Regions from separate parts of the Homo sapiens genome. Here regions 1, 2 and 4 are each linked to region 3. Evidence: promoter capture Hi-C in 16 types of primary human blood cells and fetal thymus (Javierre and others, 2016). All regions are on one chromosome and are shown on one strand. Each heading gives the region's core, a stretch centred on a gene start or on the middle of the fragment in contact. The rest is flanking DNA. Distances are from core to core; before and after follow the strand shown.

Region 1 (2,700 bases), core at 123-2,622, 200 kb after region 3:
TTTGGAAAATATGTGTTCCATCTGAACCCTGCCCTCACCGAAATTCAGAAGTAGGCAGTGTGTTTTCTCTCACACTTAGGATGTTTGGCTGAGAAGTGTGATGAGTGCCTTCCCTCCATTTGTGCAAAAGAAGCCTCTTTGAATTCTGGAGTGGAATGAAGAAAGTCCTTTCACAGCCACAGGATAAAAGTGATGGTGATGATATTGAAAATAAAACATGGAAAAAATGACCCTTCCAAATGGTTCCAAGACCAGTTTTTAGGCTAGAATCAGATATTTTGCACTTCTCCTTGCCTTCACTCACTTTTCTCCCATTACCTAATCCTTATCCTCCCTTTCCAGAATTCTCATTTGGCAATCCTGGTTTTGCTGGACAAACTTTTACAACCCTGTCTCTGAGCAGTCATTTTGCTTTGTTCACAACACACAACCTAAAAGACATTATGCACAGAGTTCAAGGCTCTCTGGGTTAATCCAAAATGTTCACCCTGTAGGCTGACGGGGACCACACATTTCTGAATCTTCACCAGGACTGCAATACCTTAATAGAATGGCCAGAAGGCTAGCAGGATTAGGGAGACAAAGTTGAACTTTGATACACACACACATACACACACACACACACACACACCCCTAAAATATCTCTGAATTGCATCATTAATTACTTTCAGTAAAAGTAATTACTTTCAGTAAAAGTAATTAATGATACAAAATGCCACACTAGAATCTCATGGGTGGTACCAGCTTGGCAGATTATCAGCTCACGGGGAAGAATGCTACCTGTGTCCTTCTTTCTTGTGAACATTTCCTGGGGCAACTTTCCTGTGCATGTCTTCTGCTCCTTAAAAATGGTGACATGATAAGGCAGTGATGGAACCTCTACTATATTCTGAGCATCACTGCTCAGAGTAGAAGATCAAACTACTAGCATTGTTCCTGGTGATTCTTTTATTTAGAAAATATTCACTGAGTTCTTTACTATTGTGTGTGTAGTATTATGCTGAGTACTTTAGTGAACTTAGGATGAATAAGAGTTGTGAACAGAAATATTACAGGGCAAGGGATGAAAGAGAAAAGAGAGTAGAACTGCCTGAGTTCAAATCCACATTTCATCCTTTCTGGTGACAAACTGAACCTCTCCTGCTTCAGTTCCTCATCTGTAGAGAAGGAATAATACAAAATTCTACCTGTAAGATTACTGGAAGCATTAGAGAAGATTGTGTATGTAAAGTGTGTGTCAGACACGCAGCAAGTGCTCCATATCAGAGGCAGTGCTTACGTCCTGTCCCTGCAGCATGGTTTGTGGTGAAGGCCTGGAGGGCCTTGGGCAGGAGAGTACTGTATTGGTTTGTCAAACACTGGGTATAGGGCACTCTCTTATTGTTTCTTGGGGTCAAAAAGGTAGTCTCAAGGAGGAGCCACTTAATTTTTGACATTTGGAATTAGGATATGTTTTCCTCTTGCTTTTTTCAGACACTTTTGAGTGATCCATTTTAATGTGTGAACAATGTAGCATTTTTTTTTTCGTGGCAGACAATGGAGGTGAAGAGAGAACAATTAGGAGTTGCAGAGAACAGACAGCATCTTGCTCAATGTAAGGGAGGAAAAATAATATATTTTCCTCACCTATCTCAAGGTTCGTGGCTGAGAGCACTACAAGAAAACACAGATTAACAAGAGAAAAACATATACATTTACCTTTTTCTTGTTTTAAACTGAAAGTACCTACTAAGTGACTCAACCAAAACCAAAGAGCCTTTTATGACTTCACCATGGACTAAGAAGGGGTTCTCAAAAGAGAGTGCAGCCCTCCCAAATCCAGAACTACCCCCAAAGAGAGTCAAAAGAAATATACAAATAAACCCCCCAAGAGCTGGCAATACTTGGTAGGATAGCTGGAAATAGGGTGCAACCCACATTTCTGTCCAGCCGTATTCTTGAGTTCCCTCCCCTGAAGTTGGTTGGGGAACTCAAGACAGCTTGCATGCCCCAACAGGGAGAAAATCAAACCAAGTTATCAGGACAGAAATTGAGAAAAACAAGGAAAGAGACAGCAGTCCCTGCGAGGGAAAGGATCAGTAACAAACGAGTACCTTAAAGCCAGATTTAGTCAGAGAGTCACAATATAGACATTTTTTTTTTTTTCCTGATAATCTGAATTTGGGAAGGAAGGGACAAGGAGAAATTTCTAACGTCTCTCTTGACCAAGCACTACAGACAGAGATCTGGGAGAGCTGACTTTGATAAGAATTCTAATTTTTCCAGCTTTTTGTCAGTTGCCCCAGGATCTCATCTGCAAGATCCAGAATGAGTGGGGTGTCTCAGTCACCCCATATTGGGCACCAGAAACTGTAGGGGAGAAAAAGTAATATCTTGCATGAACGCATTGCAAGGTTCATGGCCAAGGCCCCCATAACAAAAGACAGATTTACAAGAGAAGGCCGGGCTCACACCTGTAATCCCAGCACTTTGGGAGGCCGACGAGGGCAGATCTCCTGAGGACAGGAGTTCGAGACCAGCCTGGCCAACATGGTGAAACTTCATCTCTACTAAAAAAAAGTACAAAAGTTAACCGGGCATGGTGGCACATGCCTGTAATCCTGGCTACATGGGAGGCTGAGGCAGGAGAATTGCTTGAACCCGGGAGGCAGGGGTTGCAGTGGGCCAAGATCATGCCACTGCACTCCAACCTGGGTGACA
Region 2 (2,700 bases), core at 26-2,525, 180 kb after region 3:
GAAAATGAACTAGCAAAAAAAAAAAAAAAAAAAAAAAAAGAAAGAAAAAAAAAGGATTACTCCTTTGCAATTTAAGTTTCCTTTCCCATCTCTAGCTGTCTGAGCTTCCACATCCCAGTCGCAGAGTCCACTGGGAGAGTTTCCCTCCCAAGCATCATGCATGGGCCCAGCCCAGACACATTTCTCCAGTCTTCATGATCAGAGGCACTGATTGTCTGCTGTGGCATTACCTAAAGTGAGTGGTCCAGCTCAGGCTTCGGCACCCTTGTGACTGAGCAAACTCATTGATGTACACAAATGGAAACCATGCCTAAATTAAAGAATGTGCATATGGGTGAACAAAGAGGGGATTTATATGGTGTGCAGGCCAAAGTGGAGGCCTGATTCCTTGGTTTTGCCCACCTTCTTTCCTAGACCTTCAGATCCCCCTACCCCTAAATATGTCAATGAAGTCCTTGGTTTCAGCTGCGGAGTCAGGAAATACAACTGGAGGTAGCATGGGATGCTGGCCTGGAGAGTCATTGCGCCCCGATCCAGCTCTGTACTCTGCTTGCCTTGGGGAGAATTGCTAAAGCTTCTGGTACCGGAATGTGTCCATGCCTAAAACGAAAGGTACTATTAACGTGCATCTACCGACTTCAGAAGGGGCCGTAGGGATGAAGATGTAATTAAAGCCTGTGAGCACTTCGTGCTTCTTGATGAAAGACAACACCACCACCGTGAAGTTTTATTATCTACCGACTCTGTTTTTAAAATGATTCCAATTCCTTTCTGTTTTTCCTTTTGGGGTCTGCATAAACTTTGTTAGCTATTAATTTCAAAAAAGTCCTCCTTGCACCTCAGAGCAGGATTTTATTTAGCGCCTCAGAGAATTTCTTTCCATACTGCAGACCCTCAAAGGATTCCTCTTGGTCAGGGTGGAAGAGGCCTGCGTGTGTTCAGCTGCTGAGTTCAGTTCAATTTAATAAATATTTATGGAACATCTACTAACATCTTCTTAGCCCTGAAAGGCAGGGCAGGGCTGAAACAAGTAGGAAAGGTTGTGAACTTTGGAGCCAGGCTGCCTGAGGGTTGAATTCCAGCTGACACTTCCATATGGGTCCTTGGAGAGCCTCTCGTCACCTCTCTGAATCTCTGTTTGTCACCTGGAAAATGGAGATAACCCCATTCATCTCCCAGGGTAAGGTAATAAAAAGATAGAAATCTAGTGAGTGGTGGGTAGGCGCTCAGTGAGGCCTTGCCGCCTTCTCTGTAGCATCAGCCTCTGGAGGAGGGGGAAGGGAGATGCCTCCTCCTCAGCTGTTTCTCCTCCCTGAGGCCCTCTGTCTACTCCTAAAGGCTTGTCCATCCATTTTGGAAAGAATGTCAGCCGGTTAAACCAGTGCTTCTGAAATGTTCTCATGTCAATTTCTCCCATGCTCCTGGGCGGCTCATTTCCTCCACACACACCCTCCTCCACCAAAATACCTCCAAGGCCTCCCCATCATTACGCCCTCCACCCTCCCTCCAAATCCATTCCCAAGGAGGAGAGAAGAGCTTTCCTATTCTTTTGAGAGAGCACACAGTGGAAGTGGCTTTGCTTTGTTGTCTCCACTTCAGAAAAGATCAAACTGCAGGCTCCATGAAGTGTCAGTCCTCCAAAGGAGCTTCAGGTCAGAGGGAGGAGGGGTGAGGCCAGGCAGGGTAGGCTGAGGCTGTCCCAGAGGGACCAGTCCAGGCAGAACCAACACAGCCTTCCAAGATGCCCTCGCAGGGGCCCACATCACCCTGGATCTAGCCTGAAAGATGCCCCCTAGAATGTTCCCTGGCAGATATGGCTGTCCTGTCTGAGAGAACCACGATAAAGGAGTCCACACAGGATCCTGTCCTTTTCTAAATGAGGATTCTTGTCTCCCAGGTTCCCAGGGAGGACAGCGGATGCAAGGGAGCCCTTGAATAGGCACCGCAGAGGCCAACACACTTTAAATTAAGCTTCCGATGCTTAGAAGGGGCCACAGCTTCCCACAAATCCCCTGGTGCATGCAGCTTTGAGGCAGTGTTCAGTCCGTCTGTTCTTTTAGAAGTGCGCCTTGGAAGCCAGGAGTTATTTGTTTCCGAAAGGTAGGCACTCATCAGGTGGGTGGTCTTTGCATTTTTTGTGTGCTTTGATTCCCTCCCTTTTCTTTTCAGGACTATTGAGGGGTTTATTTTTCCCTCTCCCAGCAGTGCTTGGGGGTTTGGCTGCAATGTGCATCTGTGTTGGGTTTTCCCACAGGGCCCTGCAAAGGCAGCCCTGTTGCCTTCAGAAAGTCCCGGGCGGCCCGTGGGGGGAGTCGGAACTGCAGCTGTGCGCCCCCCTCCCTTCTGCAGCAGGCTTTGATCAGTTTTCGTAGGGGCTGAGTGCAGCCTGACCTCCCATCTCCAGCGTCTCTCAGGTGGAAAGTTCTGTTCAGCCTGTCTGTGGCTTCAAAGGCTCTCCCTCCTTCAGGCTGGGATGAGACTGATAATGGTTCTCATTCTGTTGTCGTGTGATCTCCCAGCAGCCCCCATCTTTCCATTGACAGGCTTTTACTTATTTGGTTGGGCTGCTTTGGCCAAACTCAAACCACCTTTCTGGTTGAGGAAGCACATTGACGTCCCCTCCCATTGAGGCTCCTTTGATGGCTCAGACGTGGCCTTCCAGCCCAGATAAAGGTGACCGGGCTGTGGCAGCCAGGCACC
Region 3 (2,705 bases), core at 185-2,684:
GTCACACAAGAACCCTGCGTGACTCCACGTATGCAAGGTACTTAGAGTAGTCAAAATCATAAAGATGAAAAGGAGAATGGTAGTTGCCAGGGGCTGTGAGGAGGGGAAAGAGGAGTCAGTGTTTAATGGGCACAGAGTTTCAGTTTGGAAAGATGAAAAAGTTCTGGAGAGAGATGACGGGGAAGCTTATACAACGATGTGAATGTACTTAATGCCACTGAATTGTACACTTAAACATGGGTAAAATGGTAGCTTTTACGTTAGGTATATTTTACCAGGATAAAAAGTTTTTTGTGTTTGAAAATATACCCTCTAATAGACTCAGAGTTGCTGACAGGCCCTCTCCATGGGTTGATGTAACCGTCTCCTTACCTCAAGACGAGGTTGACCCATCCAAGATTGGAGGGAACTTATCCTATTTTCAGATTATTTCCAGGGAAGGGAGCCCATGACATTATTAGGCAATCTTTTCCAGTGTCTCAAAACCCCAGACATTCTGGGTACCAGACCTTTCCTGCTGCACCTGAAGTTGATTTTCCTTGGTCAGTAAGTGCTTTGTCAGGCCACAGACTTTTCATGCACTCAAAGGCTCTAGTTACACCATCCCTAGCGTAGATCTGATGGTGCCAAGTAACAAGCCAGCAAGTGGACTTTGGAGGCCCAGCAAGCCTCCCTGTCTCACAGGCTTCTCATCAGTATAATGGATAAACAGTGCGAGGCTTGGATTCCTAAGCAGTCCTGGGACACAGGCCCCGCCAGGCCCTGGCAGGTGAAGAGCCTACCATTTCTCACTTCATTTAGGATGTATAATAGTTTGTTGGACGCTAGAACTGTACCCTTTCAGATCTGTGTCTTTACTTTTCAGCTGGAGGCCTCTTGCTGACAGGGTAGCGTTTCCCAAAGACACGGGAGCTGAGCTGGTGAGTCATTTCAACAGCCCTTACACTCTCCTCTGACCAGAGACCACATGACATATTAATCAGCTGCTTGAAAGGTATACCTGGCAGGCATGTTTCCTGCAGCCTGGAAGATGCTGACCTCGTCAGCTTTGAAACATCAAAGGGCTAACAAGAGAACAACAGGCTGAGAAAGACCTCATCACCTGGGTGCCTGTTGACCGCAGCCTTGTAAGGCCCAACACAGCTGAGATGTGCTGTCTGGAGCTCGGAGGAAGTGGAGCTTTTTCTGCTGTGAGGACCCGCCTTCAGCCCCCTTTTGGGGCACAGGAAGGGGAGGGAGTGAGCCTAAATTGTGGCCCCATGCTTAGTGACTCAGATGTTACTGCTACCACAAAGGGAAATTCATGTGGGGGTGGACATCTCCAGAGACCTCACTCACCTGTGATTTGGGGGATAATAGCATCACTCATGTGTTCACGTGCCAGGCCTGTCACCCCGGAACATTAGTCAAAGGGCTGTGTTGACAGTGATTTCAACTCTTGAATTATACGAAGGACCTGGCCGCAAGAAGGCATTGAGCCCCGAGGAGGACAACAGGCCTCAGGTACTTCATGTGATTAAAGCTGAGACAAGGGGAGTCCCATGGGTCAGTCCTGTAACTGGGGTCTGATATACACTAGTGATAGGCATTAGCATAGTTTGCACATTATATGATAGTCTTGGTCCTTTTCATTTCCTGATAAGCTGGAATGTCTGACAGAGTAAATTCCAGATGCCCTTGTGGAATTCTCATTACGATCATGTTGCTAAGGAACTGTCTTCTACCTGTATGCAATTTGGAAATACTATTAATAGTATTAACATGGAGTTTTGCAGTGTGTGGGTTTATTTCTTATTGTATTTATAATCACCCCCACCACTACCTTCCCACCGCTGGCTCACCATCTGAGGAGCTGGCATCAGGAAACTCAAGAAAGAAGGAAGGAAGGAAGGAAGGAAGGAAGGAAGGAAGGAAAGAAGGAAGGAAGGAAGGGAAAGGTTGTCCAGGCTTCACAGGAAGAACTGCATTTGTATTATTCTGTATTGAATTCTCAGGACCTCCACATTGCAGGCATCTAGAGGCTCCAATTAATAGTTGATAAATCTTGAAGGGAGGAAAAAATAGTCACAGAAAGTTCACTTGAGTGACCTGAAATTCTATAGCAATTTAGCCAGGGAGCCGGGAGGAGAATATGCCCTTCCAACTTGCAGGCCAGCTCTCTGCAGGAAGCCAGGCAGCTCTCCCAGGGGAAGCAGTGGCCAGGGCAAGCATGGGTCTTGAAGCTCAGGACTGGCTTTAGGACTCTGGCTCAGACAAGATGGGTGGCTCAAAGGTATTGAAGGGCTAGGTAGGGCCCTGAAAATTGGGCCTTTCTGCAGCAATCATCAGGGAGACTAATGGTCCTGGGCTAGGGAAGGAGTCTTCTTGGCCCAGAATGGCCAAGCAGCCAAATATTAGAGCACCTCCAGGGAGGTGTCCCTGGAAAGGGTCCTCCCCCAGTCAGCTCCTGCGGAGTGCAGGCAGGTTTGGGGGTCTCTCCTCTAGGAGAGATCCAGGGAGCTTGAGAGCAAAAGTGACAATGTGCCTGCCTTCTTCCTTCTCTGTAGGGCTCTGTTCTCTTTCTTCTTTTTTGAGGCAGGATCTTTTGCTTTATTGTCCAGGTTGGAGTGCAGTGGCATGATCACGGCTCACTGCAGCCTCAGCCTCCTGGGCTCAAGCAATCCTCCCACCTCAGCTTCCTGAGTAGCTGAGACCATGCCTGGCTA
Region 4 (2,700 bases), core at 91-2,590, 160 kb after region 3:
TAAGGAGTGAGTGAACCATGCAAAGCCCTTAGAACAGTGTCTGGTACTTGGTAAAGCTGTGATACACCATAGCTGTTATTATTATCAAAAGATTAAATAAGACACAAACCTCTTTTACTGTCACAGAACTGGCCATTTTGATGCCACCAGACCATTGATATTCACTCCATTTTGAGCACGACAGACACATTCCTAAGCAATATGCTTCTTTGTTTTGCTTTATAGGAATACATTTGACCCTTGAACAACATGGACTTGAACTGCCTGGGTCTACTTATATGTAGGTTTTTGTTTTTTCAACCAAACACAGATAGAAAATACAGCACTTGCAGGATACAAAACCTTTGTGTATGGAGGACAACTTTCCCTATACTAAGGGGCAGTCCCCCACATACACCAAGAGGCATTCCTACAAATGCTTTTTCTTGTAGTGGAGGGTAGACATCAAAGCCCACTGTTGAGGGGGTAAATGATAGGCAGATGGAAAGCCGGGCACTTATGCCAGGGCCAAGAGAAAGCTCCTCTATCCAGTTTGGGTTAGGGATGTAAATAAGGCATAGTGGGTTCTCTCAGGGCTCTTTGGTGCTGGCTGTCTTCCTGATTCTCACCCAAACTCAAAAGGGAACCTCCCAGACAGTGCTACGTTGCCTTCACAGTGAATCAAATCCTGTTAATCCAAAAGGCCACCCCAGACATCACGAACAGATCTTGGCCAAGTCCATTCTAATCCAGCTTCAACCCCACCATGCCCCAACTCCACTTTCCACTCTGCGCCTTGTGGCAGTGTTGAATGTCAGGGAACTCTCCTTGGGGACTGTAAAAAAGCCCTCAGGCTTCCCATCCCAGGGCAGGGCCACTTGCTCTCCTCTGCCCTCATGCCTGGTATCCGCTTTCTACTCTCATCACAGCCTGCCTCTGAATTGCCAGCTTCTACCACCAAGCCTGGAAGAACTTCAGGGACCAAGAACCTTAACTCCAAATGGAACACAGGCCACAAAAATTCCTCAAATATGTACACCAAAACAAAAGGGTCCCCGGGGATTCACTTTATCTTACCAAGTTTCAGCTGAAGGGGAAGCATTCTAATGGCAAGTAAGAAAAGCTGTCAGAGAACTGTTTTGTTCAACATCAAATGCATTCCAGGCCTTATTTAATCAGGGAGCCCTCTTCACAGCTGATGCAGAGGTTGTTCCTGCAAATTGTTCCTGAGTCAGGGAGAGGAGCCTTGATTTTCAATGCAAAATAATGTTCTTTTGGCACAGGCAAAGTTGGTTGGCAGCTGGAGGTTTGGGGTGACCTCTGACCCTCTCCCACAGTTCCTCCCAAGTCCCACTGCACAAAACTAAGCCACCCTCAAATCCCAGGCTCTAATTGGCTCTTTGGTTTGTTTTGCTTTTCTCTTCTATCCAGAGCTTCAAAAGGCACTTCGATAATTGTTTGAGGCATGAAAAAGGCAGGTTTCAGCTTTCCTAACTGGAATGGAGGTAATTACTGTCTTCCACACACGAGCCGGTACATGCTTGAAATCAGATGGCTCTGGGTTGTTTTAGAAAGTGTAGCTGGGCCTCTGAGCCAGGAGAGGGAGGATTATGGAGCCTTCCAGCGGCTCCATTCCAGAGAGGGAGGAATTCAGACATCCCAGAAACGGTGAGGGTAACTTCCATATTTTTTTTGCAGTCTCTTCAATTCTGCCCAAGAGATTTGGCCTGAAAAGATTGTGCCTTCAACCTCATCCTGGAAATTCAGGTAGCATTTTTCGGTTTTCTCTCTCAGGAGACAGAAGCTGACACCCCACATGACTCCCATCTTGTCTGTAATCAGCAACCAGGGCTTTGACCTGCACTGTCCTCCTTTCCAGCAGCAGAAAGGGGTCAAACTGAGCCAGGTCTAGTAAGAGCTATCTCAGAGAACCAGAACACGGATTTGCTTTTGTTCTCTCAGGACAGCAAACCCAAGGGAGGGCAGACTCAGGCTCACATCCCACTCACACGGCCCTGAGTGTGGACTGGGAGCAAGACGCTGCTTCAAATTTCAGCCTGCCAGCTGTGTGTCCACAGGCAGCTAACAAACATCTCTCATCCAGCCACAGCCTCACCCAGAGAAGAGTAACCGACCCAACCTTATAGCGTTGCTGTGAAGTCAGTTAACATAGGGCTGAAGTTTGCTGTGAAGTCACAGCAACCCTATGTTATGGTTAACTTCATTTAACATAGGGTTAATGTAGGTTTAATATGAGGGGCTAACAATTACATATAAATGTTAGCTACTGTAATTGTCAGATGCATGGCCACTGGTGCCAAAGGAACCACTCTGAAAATTCTGGAGGTTTTCAAGACTCTGGGGATTCAGAAATGGAGGAAGAAAAGAAGCTGCTGCAGGAACAGTGCAGGGAAGCTAGAAGGGAACAGGGTGGCAGCCCCAGCTCAAAAGGTCTTCCCTCTCAAGGGCACCACCTGAAACGTATAAGGTTGCCTGAAATTCCACAGATTAGACATTTAGTTTTGCTTCTTTACAACAATATATCTCAAAGAGAACTGGCTGGTTAAACATTATTCATACATCTGTGTGAACTGGTTTATTTGCTCTCTTCCTAATACCTACACACTTAGAAACTCCAGGGAGCAAAGAGCTTGGGTCTGAGTTAGGGACTAGGAAAGGAACAGAAAGTAATAACTTAGAGTCATGAAGCACTGTCCAAGA

What was found. The method cuts DNA at HindIII sites, captures the fragments that hold promoters and counts their contacts. A CHiCAGO score of 5 or more calls a contact.
Region 1: a fragment that was not itself captured here is called in contact with the fragment with the promoter of RAD51B-AS1 in region 3 in 2 of 17 cell types (total B cells and non-activated CD4 T cells); the score reaches 6.3 in total B cells.
Region 2: a contact is called between a fragment that was not itself captured here and the fragment with the promoter of RAD51B-AS1 in region 3, in 7 of 17 cell types (non-activated CD4 T cells, endothelial precursors, naive B cells and 4 more). The highest score is 10.7, in non-activated CD4 T cells.
Region 4: a fragment that was not itself captured here is called in contact with the fragment with the promoter of RAD51B-AS1 in region 3 in 3 of 17 cell types (naive B cells, non-activated CD4 T cells and total B cells); the score reaches 7.4 in naive B cells.

The regions. Positions count from the first base shown.
Region 1 is chr14:68,480,108-68,482,807 of GRCh38, reverse strand. It overlaps a transcript of RAD51B not described here. Among named protein-coding and RNA genes, the nearest start is that of RAD51B-AS1, 200 kb to the left of the region's middle. The HindIII fragment of the contact is 5,113 bases long and covers 1-2,700 here.
Region 2 is chr14:68,502,002-68,504,701 of GRCh38, reverse strand. It overlaps a transcript of RAD51B not described here. Among named protein-coding and RNA genes, the nearest start is that of RAD51B-AS1, 180 kb to the left of the region's middle. The HindIII fragment of the contact is 1,397 bases long and covers 577-1,973 here.
Region 3 is chr14:68,684,169-68,686,873 of GRCh38, reverse strand. RAD51B-AS1 (RAD51B antisense RNA 1) reads left to right here and starts at 1,434. Exons shown (of 4, transcript XR_007064220.1): 1 at 1,434-1,503. RefSeq lists an enhancer at 1,097-1,146. The HindIII fragment of the contact is 3,133 bases long and covers 188-2,705 here.
Region 4 is chr14:68,521,399-68,524,098 of GRCh38, reverse strand. It overlaps LOC124903334 (a long non-coding RNA gene), which reads left to right. Exons shown (of 3, transcript XR_007064223.1): 2 at 1-1,484; 3 at 1,678-2,700. It also overlaps a transcript of RAD51B not described here. Among named protein-coding and RNA genes, the nearest start is that of RAD51B-AS1, 160 kb to the left of the region's middle. The HindIII fragment of the contact is 4,614 bases long and covers 1-2,700 here.